2 separate regions of the Homo sapiens genome follow, and region 1 is linked to region 2. The links are contacts of gene promoters, found by promoter capture Hi-C in blood cells and fetal thymus (Javierre and others, 2016). All regions are on one chromosome and are shown on one strand. The core of a region is centred on a gene start or on the middle of the fragment in contact, and the rest is flanking DNA. Distances in the headings are between cores, read along the strand shown.

What was found. The method cuts DNA at HindIII sites, captures the fragments that hold promoters and counts their contacts. A CHiCAGO score of 5 or more calls a contact.
Region 1: a fragment that was not itself captured here is called in contact with the fragment with the promoter of NUS1 in region 2 in 1 of 17 cell types (endothelial precursors); the score reaches 5.9 in endothelial precursors.

What each region holds. Positions count from the first base shown.
Region 1 is chr6:117,339,482-117,345,948 of GRCh38, forward strand. It overlaps ROS1 (ROS proto-oncogene 1, receptor tyrosine kinase), which reads right to left. Exons shown (of 44, transcript NM_001378902.1): 28 at 4,579-4,781; 29 at 2,919-3,063; 30 at 1,919-2,151; 31 at 1,654-1,830. Among named protein-coding and RNA genes, the nearest start is that of VGLL2, 77 kb to the left of the region's middle. The HindIII fragment of the contact is 469 bases long and covers 4,397-4,865 here.
Region 2 is chr6:117,673,397-117,679,913 of GRCh38, forward strand. NUS1 (NUS1 dehydrodolichyl diphosphate synthase subunit) reads left to right here and starts at 2,073. Exons shown (of 5, transcript NM_138459.5): 1 at 2,073-2,689. The coding sequence starts at 2,275. It overlaps LOC101927919 (a long non-coding RNA gene), which reads right to left and starts at 1,888. Exons shown (of 3, transcript NR_110854.1): 1 at 1,701-1,888; 2 at 1,251-1,439; 3 at 1-686. The HindIII fragment of the contact is 6,476 bases long and covers 1-5,252 here.

The DNA of each region.
Region 1 (6,467 bases), core at 3,381-5,880, 330 kb before region 2:
AGTTTCAGTATGCAGTTACGGTATTATTTCCAGCTGTCCTGTCATTGTGAGATAGGCTCAAGTTGTTCAAAAGAGACAGCACTTTCTGACTATATAGCACTCATCAACCCTTGCAGAACCACAGACTTTTACTGTACTCATAGTTAGTATTTGTAGATGGCCACTCATGTACAAATGACTCTATCTTGTATTTGCAGCTTCATGATTTTCTAAATGGTCTGCCTGGAACCTGTGTTGAGCAAATGTGAAAACAGAGGAAGTTTAGAAACAAAAAGCACTGCATGAAAGTCATGAGAATTCAACCAGGAGATCTCTGTCTGCTGTCCTTCTCCCCAAACTTGAAAGAGTGGGATGGATGACTTAATGACTCCTATTCCTTCCACGGACAGCACCCTAATAGGACTGCTGTAGGGAGAAGTCAGCCCTGGGGTTTTTCTCTGCCTGGTGACATCTGGCATCTGTCTAGATCTCCATTTCTGATCAATAAAATGAGAGGCTAGGGTGTCAATTATCTCTGAAGTCTTTTCCCATTTCATTTCTTTGATAATCTTGGAAATGAACTTTACATCCTTCCTCTTGGTTTTAGACTGAACTGCATTAAGTTTACTAAAATAGATGTTATTTTAAAAGGCACTCCTCCAATTTCTCCAATTTAACTGCATTTTTATAAGGTGGCAATTTTTTAAATAGACAACAAATTATCAGAAACATGCTCAACAGAAAAAGTCCAATGAAACTATGGTCTTTGAGTTTATCAACTCAATATTCAGTGTTGTTCCACAGTTTTCATAGTTTTTATCTATAAAGTATAAGATCACAAAAATACCTTACATAATAATTTTAAACATCCTGGGGAATAACTGCATTTTAAGAAGTAGTGAGGCCATGATTATACTGATTTGCTTTTGAGTTACCACTGAACAAAACATTTCTAATTAATCTTTAAAAACACGTACACATACATAGGCCCAGAAATATACAAACATGCACATGCACATATATAATAGTTAAAATAACAAGTAGCAATTATAAAAAATTAATAATCAATTTTGAGTTTATCACCATAAAAGTCAATGTAGGCTTTCCCCATCAATGAATTAATCAGGTTAATTGATGACTTAAAATTCAGTGGGTGCTTCCTTATTGGTTAAAGCGTGAAAAGTTTTGGATGAGGAATCATTTAAAGTTTGCAAGCCAACAACAAAACTACTTTAGAATAAGCTGGTTTTATGGTTTACTTCTCTCTTGTTACTGCACAGCCCTTAAAATGATGAAAGAACATTTCTAAACAAGGTTTTGGTTTTTTCTTTCTTCAGTTCTTTTTCATTTTTTTTTCATGGAAAACACCAAGTTACTATGGACTTTAAACCAGAGAACCATGCTAACATCTAAACTAAGTAAAATATTATAAAATTAGTACACTATAACTTATACCCTTTTACATAAAGCCTTTTAAAAGCAAATTAATCTCCCTGAGAATTCTTCCCACCAGAAATTAGTCTGGATAACTCACTGCTTCTGCATGCCAAACATAAATCAATGAAAGTTGTCAAATATATTGTTTATTTATACATGAGCATGTTCTAGATGCATGAAAAAGCCCTTTCCAATTTATTCTATATCATAAAATAAAGACTTGCATTAAAAGTCTACCTTCTGTAGCTCAACCCAAAATCTGATGAGGTTAACATTCAATGGAGCCTTCCAATTAAATTGCAAACTAGTGTTCTCTGGAACCAAGGAATAAGGTTTCTCTGGTGTGTTAAACATTTCCACAGTGACAGGATGACTCTCTGTACACCACATTTCCTCAGAGTGGCAGGCAAGAACCTTTTGGTAAAAAAGAACAATTGCTTAACCTTTTGAGAGCCTTGCACTTGAGAATGACAATAAAGAGTGCCTAGTAAACTCACTGTACCTTTAACACATAAATATTTCCACCAGACAGTCTAGTAACAAGGAGAGTGAGCCTTCCATTTGGAAATTCACTTTGTCTTAGAGGAGTTTCAGGAATTAGGGCCAGGTGTGAGATTGCCAACTGATAACGGACTGATTCTTTAGGTCCATTTGGCTTGTGAGATTCTCTCCAAGATATAATGAGGCTGGTGTCTGACCGCACAGTTGTATTAATGAGCTGCACTGCCTCTGGTACTGAAATAAATAGCAAGGAATGATAAAGGATGCTGCAATAGCACTGAAAGATGGAAAGAAGTAATGGAGTTTGGGTTGAAGAGTAATCATGTGGTATGAGCAGAATAAATAACACATGTCCAGAAAGAAAGTCAGCCTCTTCTATAATCGTAGGTTAACAGACTGCCTAAAAGGCTCCCACTTATTTTTGCCCAGTGACCAAATCATTCTCTGACTCCAGCTCAAGGATATGGCCAACGGGGAATAACCCAATTTGGGTGAGTTTTGTGAATATCATCAGAGACATCTGAAATAAACGTCATCACCTCATAATAATCACCACCTCATCAGCTCTTAGAAAACCTTTTCAGACCTATTTTCTTTAAGGCTATACTGTTGCATAACTTTACAGCTCAGGCCTCAGTAAAATTCACATAGAAAAAAAGCTTGGTTTTTCTATAGCTCACCACATGTACAGAAACCTATGAGTATCTGGAAAAAGTGACACTGTGTGGTGAGACCAAATAATGTGTTTCTTGGTCAAACAATATTGATTTCAATGTTTTACCTCCTAGTTGCTTTCTATTTTAATAGAATATTATTAGTTAGCTTCAGGGGTTAGAGTAAGGGTCAGGTCAAAGTTTTCTACAAACACATTTTTCTTATTAAACTTAAAAAAGCTTACTAAAATTACTTCGCATTCAGATTTTAAAAAATAAACATCAACATACACAGCACATATATCACAATATTCTGCTTGAGAAACCCACAACAAGCCCATAACTTACCTCCATTTTTAGTTTTTCCCCAAATCTCTTTTCCTGGTGGTAAATGTTCCAAAGGATCTGAATAATAATTTTTTACAGCTATCTGTATCATGTATGTTGAAAATGGTTGTAAATCTTCAATAAGAGCTATACTGTCCTGAAATTCCTGTAATTGATTTTTTAAAAATCAACATCTTATTTTTAACATTTTATACAAATTGGTAGAAATTATTTAATCAAAGAGAGAACAAAGTTAAAGGCTCAAAAAAATTAATTTATTTTAAATTCTGGATTATTAATGGTAATACCACTGTCCAATCTACCCAGACCTGAGTTGTTCAATGTTTCCAAGAATAAATACCAAATGATTGGTAGCCTTCAGTTGGTTTTGTGGCATAAATTGTTTCACATGGGAAGTTAAATTCCTAGAAGAGGACACTATTTCATTAACATTGTATTAGAAATTCAGCAAGATGGTAGAAAACATGTGACACATATGTGAATACAATAAAATATTTTTATAGTATCTAATCACTCTTAGAAATAAAGTTTAAGAGAGTAAAAAGACTTTCCTTAGACCAATGGTTCTCAACTTTGTTTATACTTTGCTATCATCTGGGAAGTTTTAAGAAACTACTATGCCTGGGTTCTATTGCCAGAGATTCTGATTGAGTTATCTGGGGTGAAGCCTAGATGCAGAGTGTTTTGTTTTTTTTTTTTAAAGCTTCGATGTGCCGCCAAGGTTGAGAACCACTGTCTTAGACCACTGTTAATCAATGAGAAGACAATAAGATAGATTAAATTTAATAACAGACATGACCAGTGCTGCCAAGTCCAATCTTGGCCAGCCAAATGATCTATCTGAAATTACTTATTTTAGAAATGTGTAAAAAGGGTTAATTAGACAAAATTAAGGAAGGAATGAAAAATCACATACACTTTATGGGAAAACATATAGTGTTTAACATCCAACAGTTAGTCAATTTCACCTTTTGAACAGGCTAAATAAAGCCAAGCACAAAGCAAAATATTGGATATATGTGATTCCATCACTAAGACAACTGAAATACTAATGAATACATTTCATCATTTCAATGATTGAATGAATAGTGCCAATTCATTCAAGAAATAGTTAGTGAATGCCTACACAGTGCCACTAACTGTGCTAGGTGCTAGGCATACAATGATGACTAAAAACAGTATCTGCATAGCAGTATATTTCTCTGCACATAGGAAACAAAAGACAAAATATAATGTACAATTTTTATATTAGATAAATGCTGTGGAGAAGAGGTATAAGGCAATGTTCTTTCCGTCCAGTTCATTTCTTACTCTTCAATCTTCAGTCTGCTCCATAGGCTGCAAAAATAATTCTCTATCATTCTCTCTGAGGATAATTAGATAATCAGGGAGGGGAATAAACCCAATTCTTTCTGGACACTCAGAAAACGGTTACCATGGCAATCCATCAATGGGCAAGAGTTGATATACTTCCTTGAAGCTTAACTTACTCCCAGTCAAGAAAACTAGAACACAATATGTTTTGATGAATCATTAGCTGTAAAAAAGTTGCGTACTAGTCCATTTCAGAACATATAGGAAATACTTTACTATGGCTCATAATTTTATATCAAAAAAGAACATCTTGTGAAAAGACAAAGACCACTAGTTCCAATCTTACCAGAATTCTATATTTCAAGTCAGAGCTGTTTTTCCTGTCATTAACTTCTGCATAATAAACCAGGTATGTTGGAGTAGGGCTGGTGATGCCATACCATGTGAGGTTTGTCTTGGCCAGAGGTAATCTGATTGTGAGGCTAGTGTTAGTGGCATTAAGTATAGTTGGTTCCACAGTGTCTGAAGCTAGAGACAGAAACGCTTTATCTAAAATAAGAAGAAACCAAAAGATTAAATATCTATACTATATATATGAGAGGAAAAGCAGATTTTTAACAAGAATAATATCAAAGCTTAGAAAGAAATTTGTAGAGCATACATAACTTTTGCTTGAAAACATAAATATGAAAATGATTTGAAATAATATTCTCTTTGAAGAAACAAAAATGGCTGCAGCTTGATACTGTGTGTAGTATGTGTAGTATGTACTGCTACAGTCTACCCAATGTCCTCTCCTTTTCTTCAAGTTCATATATATCTGATATTGTTCAGGGCAGTATGCTGGGAGGAAAAACTGTTTCTGAAGTTTGATTGCAGCCCAGACAATCATGTGACACGGTCTGGTTAGTCAGATGTGCTTATCACTGTGGCGCACCTCTGTCCTTCACCCTCCCCCAACCCAGGAGGCGGACACTATGCAAGAGGGGCGGCAGCCATCTTGTGAGAATTGAATAAAGGACTCACTAAGGATGTTTGGGGAAAGATCAAGTCCAGGTGATTGATGGCATTGTGGAGCTCCCTGGCCACCGCTTACAACCAAACACCTTGCACGCTGCACAACTCCAGGGAGCCCCAGTCACAGAGACTACAATGGAAATGGTCTGTTCTAGACCAGTGCAGTAGCGCAACCATACCGCAGGCTTAAGCCTCGAAAAATCGCAGATCTGTCACTTGCAGCTGAACACAACTTCTTGACCTATTCACTCTCAGTCTTTATGTAAAACATCACCTAAAAATGTAGCATAATTACATAATATGCAAATAACTCCAAATATGATTTTAATATGAAATCTAACAATCTTACACCAGTTAGCCAACTCTTTAACTCATTGTGCGTGGCACTGTGCAATCTGGCTCCTGCCCGCATATCCAGTCTCTGCTATGCAAAGCCATCCTTCACTCTAACCACAGTACACTATCTACACACTGCAGGACTTCTACCCCTCCAACCCTTCACATAGGTAGTCTCTTCAGGTTGGAATGATCTTCCCCATCTGCCTAACCTTACTTAAGCCTCAATTCATGCATCATTTTTCCTGGGAAGCCCTTTCTGCCTTCCTATTCCAGGTGAAGGACATCTCCTCTCTGTCCTCACTCCACTTCACGTGTTCTTCTACCAGTGCACTAGCCACATGTGATTTTGGTTTTGGTTTTCTTTTGCTGCTTTCTTTTCTTCATCTAGCACTAGAATGTAACTATCTTTGGCTGAGACTGTGCTTGAATTATCTTTGTTCCACCAGAGCCCCAGGAGGGTGCCTGACATATATTAGGTATTTAGTATGTGTTGTCGATCCTTATGAATTCATATTAGCCACATATAAAATACAACCTTTGCATTCAGCAAGTAAGAAAATTAGGGGGTAAATGTCTAAGTGACAAAAACTTGATGAAGCCAGCTCCTTCACTTGCTAACTTTTTTGTCTTGGGAAGGTTACTCCAGCTCTTCTGTAAACAGAGACAATGGCCTGCTTTACAGATATTTATATATCACTCTATCCCTAGCACATGGTAAGAACATTAAATAAATGTTAGCTATTACTATCATCATTACTGAGACTAAAATGAAAAGTTAGAGAAAATAATGCTGGTCTGGTCTGGGAATTCCAAATATGAATTCCAAAATGCAGGAAAAAATGTTTAAAATTAGAAGTACATCGAAAATCTCCAACAACA
Region 2 (6,517 bases), core at 823-3,322:
GCTAGAATCCTTTTGCTTAAGTTTGCAATTCAAAGAAATACAGGGGCCGGACGCAGTGGCTCACGCCTGTAATCCCAGCACTTTGGGAGGCCAAGGCGGGCGGATCACCTGAGGTCAGGAGTTCAAGACCAACATGGTGAAACCCCGCCTCTACTAAAAACACACAAAAAATTAGCCGGGCGTAGTGGCGGGCACCTGTAGTCCCAGCTATTCGGGAGGCTGAGGCAGGAGAACGGCGTGAACCCGGGAGGCGGAGCCTGCAGTGAGCTGAGATCGCACCACTGCCCTCCAGCCTGGGCGACTGAGCGAGACTCCGTTTCAAAAAAAAAGGAAAAAAGAAATACAGAAGATAGAGCCTGTTTGTGCCTGCACACCTGAGAGCAGGCCACGGGAACATGAGATTGATGTCTTTAATCTTGTCAGAACGGATAGACATTGGGGCAAAGAAATGAGTACGGTAGAGAAATGTGGCAACATAGTCGGCATGGGGGGTGGGGTGGGGTCTGCAGAATACGTGGCCAAATCTCAATGGGACACTGGTGTCTAGGGAGCTTCCTTAACAAGCATCATGTAGCTGCATAAACTACAGCAATGGGCAGTGAGGAAGAAGACTGTAGGCTTCCCTGATCATGGCCTTTCGCCTCTCCTTCTTTGTCCATCATCAGAGGAGCTACCGCAGAGGAGACCTGGAGAGAAAGAAGTGTGTGAAGGGTGTGCCTGGTGCCCAGCCCTCAGTTCTTCAGGCTGCACTGCCAAAGGGAGGAAAATTGCACTGCGAAAGGGAGATGGACATGAGATTCAACTTTTAAAGTAAAGTTAAATGAGTCTTAGAAACCAAAATGAGACTAGTTGAAAAAGTGACAATGTTAGAAAAATTAAGTCACATAGCCAAGACGTGAACAGATGTTTCCCAGGGGGAAAAAGAGGCTTTAGCGAACAAAGAATAGGTAGGTATTACAAAAACGCAACTGTTTACACACACACACGTGTGTAAATATGTGTGTATACGTGTGTATGTGTACAGTTGCATTTTTGTAATACCTCCCTAATCTTTATATATATACTTATATAAATATAAATGCAAATAATATAAATATTATTGTTGCACACACACATATATATGATGATAGAGGATGTAGCATGTAGGATAAACCTTGAGAAATGGGTTGGAATGTCGGCAATACCAAGTCGGGAATCAGGAATTCAGGAGAAGAGCTTGAACAAAAAGGGCAAAGACAGTACAGACTTACCGCGGGGAAGTACAAAACCATTCTAGAGGACCACGTCGAAGTCCACATGGACAGAAACATTAGGGTGTTAAAGGGGATGATAAGGCTTGGATGGGCAGTTTGCTTCAAATAGTGGCGGTCATTGAAGTCAGGCACAATTTCTATTTTTTTTCCCCACTGTAAACCTAACCCACGGCGGTTGGTCAAAGTCTTGCCGAATAAAAAAAAAAAAAAAAAAAAAGAATTAAGTGACTGGACTGCCAAGCTGTAGAGCCTCTATTAAGCAATGTACAGCCAGGAAAGGATACCTTAGATGAGAATGACATGGGTAGAGGGGTGTTTCAGGAACATGGCTAAAGAGCCTCGCTCCCAGCCTCAGCCGGGAGGCTGAATAAAGGACAGTAGCAGGATCACTCCAGCCTTTGAGGACACTTTTGGAAACCCTGGTGGATTCCCAGCATCAACACTTACTGAGGGCTGCTTTCCATCCCTAGGTTCTTTCCGGCATTTGTAATTTCCAATCCACTTAGGACACTTCTACTCCTCAGAAACCGTTTCTGTCGGGGCCGTGAGAGGAGACAGTATAAGACTTCCTGGACCCAAGGGACGCCGGGTCCCCTGGAAGCGCCCATCGCATTGAAGACCACGTGTGCCTTGCTGGGGTCCCATTCAGACAAGTCCCGGGTCGTTCGCTCATCGCCCTCCACGCGACCAGGGGGCGCCCGCGGTATCGGCCCGGCTAGTTCGCAGGCGTGCGCCTTCCCTCACTGCGCCGGAACGGGCCACGTTCTCGGACCCAGAAGCCGCGTCAGAATTCCACGCTGGCCAATCGGAACTGTCCATGTACTACTGGGGGCGGGGCTGCCAAGGGAGGAGGAAGATGGCGGCGGGGGCGAGGTGAGGTGTTGGCAGTGGAAAGGGGTTCGGGCTCGGGGGGCGGGGGGACGCGGAGCGATGGCCCGCGCCGGCCGCAGGGGCGGATAAAAAGCCGTCGCGCTGCGGGAGTGGGCGGGAGGGAGAGGGGGTGTCTGAGGGCCACAAGAGTATGACGGGGCTGTACGAGCTGGTGTGGCGGGTGCTGCACGCGCTGCTCTGTCTGCACCGCACGCTCACCTCCTGGCTCCGCGTTCGGTTCGGCACCTGGAACTGGATCTGGCGGCGCTGCTGCCGCGCCGCCTCTGCCGCGGTCCTAGCGCCGCTCGGCTTCACGCTCCGCAAGCCCCCGGCAGTCGGCAGGAACCGCCGTCACCACCGGCACCCGCGCGGGGGGTCGTGCCTGGCAGCCGCACACCACCGGATGCGCTGGCGCGCGGACGGTCGTTCCTTGGAGAAGCTGCCTGTGCATATGGGCCTGGTGATCACCGAGGTGGAGCAGGAACCCAGCTTCTCGGACATCGCGAGCCTCGTGGTGTGGTGTATGGCCGTGGGCATCTCCTACATTAGCGTCTACGACCACCAAGGTGAGGCCCGGTGCGGTGGTGGGGGGTGGCCGAGGCGTCTTGGACCGCTAGACCGCTGGTCTGGCGGGTGGTGCCCATGGCACGAGTTGCCGCGGCCTCTCTGCAAATCACAGCGCTAGCGCTTTCGAGGAAGGGAGATCAGCTTTATTGAACACCTACTAATTCTCTGGATTTGACTCAGTAGCTTTTTAACATTTTAAAAATATCCCTTGGCCGGGCGCGGTGGCTCATGCCTGTAATCCCAGCACTTTGGGAGGCCGAGGCGGACGGATCACCTGAGGTCGGGAGTTCGAGACCAGCCTGACTAACATGGAGAAACCCCGTTTCTACTAAAAATACAAGTTTAGTCGGGCGTGGTGGCATATGCCTGTAATCCCAGCTACTAGGGAGGCTGAGGCAGGAGAATCGCTGGAACCCGGGAGGCGGAGGTTGTGGTGAGCCGAGATCGCGCCACTGCACTCCAGCCTGGGCAACAAGAGCGAAACTCTGTCTCAAATAAGTAAATAAATAAATAAAAATAAATAAAAAATCTCTTATTCGTTATAATACTGCAGTAATGTAGATGGTATTTGTATACCCTTGCCAAGGTTTAAAAACATTAACTGATTTGCCCAAGGCCACAAGATCGTAATGGGGCCACAAAGATCGGAATGAGGATATTGGAATTTTAGCCATTCTGTGCTTTTTCACAATCTTTGCCTTTGGTTACACCACACTGTTTCTTTAAGAGAGCTTCCAGGCGCTGTTCTTAAGTCGCAGTGAGGCTATAGAGGACTTAGGCATGGGCTGTGTGATAGGTACTGCAAATGGGAGCGGTGGGGGTCAGGTGGTATTTGAACTGGGTTTATGAAAAATATGTGAGAGATTGGATAGGCAGAAAAGAAAATGGTCCCTTTCTGTCTTGGAAGGCTGGGATGGTTTGTGATCCTTCATCATCAGTGCCCAACACAGTACTTGATAGAATTGTCCTCTCATATGTTTTGATTGAGGGAATGAATTTCACCATAGGGAGTTTTTGTAAGTACAAAAATTCAGTACTTATTGGGTAGCTACAAACCTAAAGCACTGTGCTAGGCATATTCCTTGGAATCTTGCATTTAATTCCATGGACTCTCAGGCTTGTTAGGAGGTAGGCACACACTCACATATTTGACATGGTTAATAACAAGAAGTGTTGAGAGTAAAATTACTATTGTGAGAAGAGAGGAGAGAAATTGTGAATGAAGGAACTTGAGAAGTTCATGCAGTGGAGGTGGGATTTAAGCAGGACCTTGAAGAATAGGTAGGAGATAAGTTGAGGAATACTCAGGTTTGGGATGTCAGGTTTGATTTTCAATCAGATCTTGAAAGCATTGGAATTTCTTTAAAGATGTGAGAAGAATGATTTAAGAGTATTGGTATGAAGGGAAGAAAACAAAAGTTTTATTCTCTGTTCAATAAATTACCTGTGTGCTCTAGAGAGGCATACATCTTTGTCAGATTGGTAAATTTAAGTGCAGGGTTTTGTCAGAAAGGGAAGGCATAGGCCAGACAGTAACGCTTACAGGCTGATCTCTGATTGCCCTATCATCTTTCCTGCAGCCCGCAAGGAACATGATGACGCAGTAGCCTGTCATCACCAAATGATGATTTGCCCTATAGGGTAAAGTTTGATATATTCAGAGACTGACATTTATGGAACTTGCTAAAGAACTCAGCAGACCAATAGAAATCATGAGACTGTTAGGAGATGACACAATCCATGCCTAAACCAATGCAACCAGTTTTGCTTGGGGAAAAAAATAGGTGAAGCAAAAGTGGACATAAAGGCATTAAGCAACGTGGTGGATTGATGTACAGCCAGGTGATTCTTTTAAAGCAAGTATCTTTATCTTCCAGTAGGGAAGGAAAATGTATAGCTAAATTGTTTGACTTGATGACCGTGCCTACTAGTACAGACTATAATGTTGCCACATTTCCTTGTTTCTGCAAGTCCTGTGTTTAAATTGCTGATGTGATTCAGAAGTATCCTGTGTCATAGTTGCTAAAAGAAAAATGATTAGTAATTAAAAGGAAGAAGTAAGCTAAGCCAAGTTTTGGCTGAGAACTGAAAGGCACCTTAAGGAGCATTTTCAGTGAAAGGGCTTACAGGATTTTGTATCTTAACTGTAAAATCAGTTTTTTTGTTTGTTTTTTTTAAAAGAATAAGAAATATTCCTGAAATAAGAGACCTTCAATTAGTCCATTCTTGGTTTTGATTCGTTCATACATTCATTTACAGGTGACAGTTGGGGTCTGTTAAGTACCAGATACTCTTCCAGACATGGGAATGCAGCAGTGTACTCATGGAACTTAGATTTCAGTGGGAGTCTGACAAATAATATACGTGGGTAAATATGTGGTAATGTAAGTGCAATGAGGAAAAGTAAAGCAGAGAAGGGAAGATAGGAATGTTGAAAGTCAGTGGTGTAGGAAGGGGTACAGTTTTAAATAGGGAGGCCAAGGAGAGGCTCTTTGAATATAGACTTGAAAATATAGGCCATGTGGATATGTAAGAATCACTCAGAGGGAGTATAGACATGTAAGCTTTATTTAGTGTTTCTTTTTCAGTGGTTTTTTTTTTTTTTTTTTTTTGAGACGGAGTCTCGCTCTGTCACCCAGGCTGGAGTGCAGTGGTGTAATCTAGGCTCACTGCAACCTCCGTCTCCCAGATTCAAGTTCTCCTGTCTCAGCCTCCCCAAGTAGCTGGGACTACAGGTGATGCGCGCCACCCCGCCCTGCTAATTTTTGTATTTTCAGTAGAGACAGGGTTTTGCCATATTGGCCAGGCTGGTCTCAAACTCCTGACCTCAGGTGATCTGCCTGCCTCAGCCTCCCAAAGTGCTGGGATTACAGGTGTGAGCCACTGCGCCCGGCCATATTCAGTGTTTCTAAATAAATGTCTATTTAAGCTTATTTCTAGATAGATATTTAACTATGAAAAATCCTATTGACATACTCGTAAATGCCACTGGGATACAAGAAGTACAAGAAATGGTGTCTCTTAAAGAGTTTCCACTCAAGTAAGGATGTCCATTAAAAATTAACACAAGCTAATATAGAAATGCTAAGTGAATGGCAGATACTTTAAGGAGCGAAAAATGGAAAATTTCCCGGGTTACCTCCATATTTGTCTGGTAAGGAAGGGAGCAACACCTGAGCTGGACCTAGTCAAAAAGATAGAATTGGGATTGGCGTGAACAGTGTTCTCTGTGTGTGTGAATGGGGATTTCCCTAATGGCAGCATTCTCATTAGACTAGGTTCAGTAATAGCATTGAGTAGAGTGTTGGGAGCAGTGAATTTATGTAATGAACAGTTGGGAAATGAGGTAGGATGAAGGCTTGGACAGCTATTCTGGTTACCTACTGCTTTGTAGAAATCTACCCAAAGCATAGTGTTTTAAAACAACAATTTATATATTGACTTAGTTCAGTTGGGCAGTTTTTCCTTTGGGTCACTCATAGCTTTCATTCAGATAGAGTCTGGGACCCAAAGGTTTCTCCTTATGTCTGGTGCCTGGTTTTTGATGGCTGAAATAGATGGGGCAGGTTGGTCATCTGGCTTCACATGGTCTGGAGGTTGACTTCAGGGTAACCAGTTAACTAACTTCCCCCAGAACAAATGTTTCCAGAGACTTGGCCAAAGGCTGAAGCTGAAAGATGTCTTAGGACCTAACCTAGGAAATCATGCAGTGTTATTTTTGCTATGTTCTCTTGGTCAGAGAAGTCTCACATCTGTTCTGCATCAAGAAAGTGGAGAAATGGACTTCACCTCTCAATGAGAAAATGGCTTGTGTAGAAAGGTTGGGT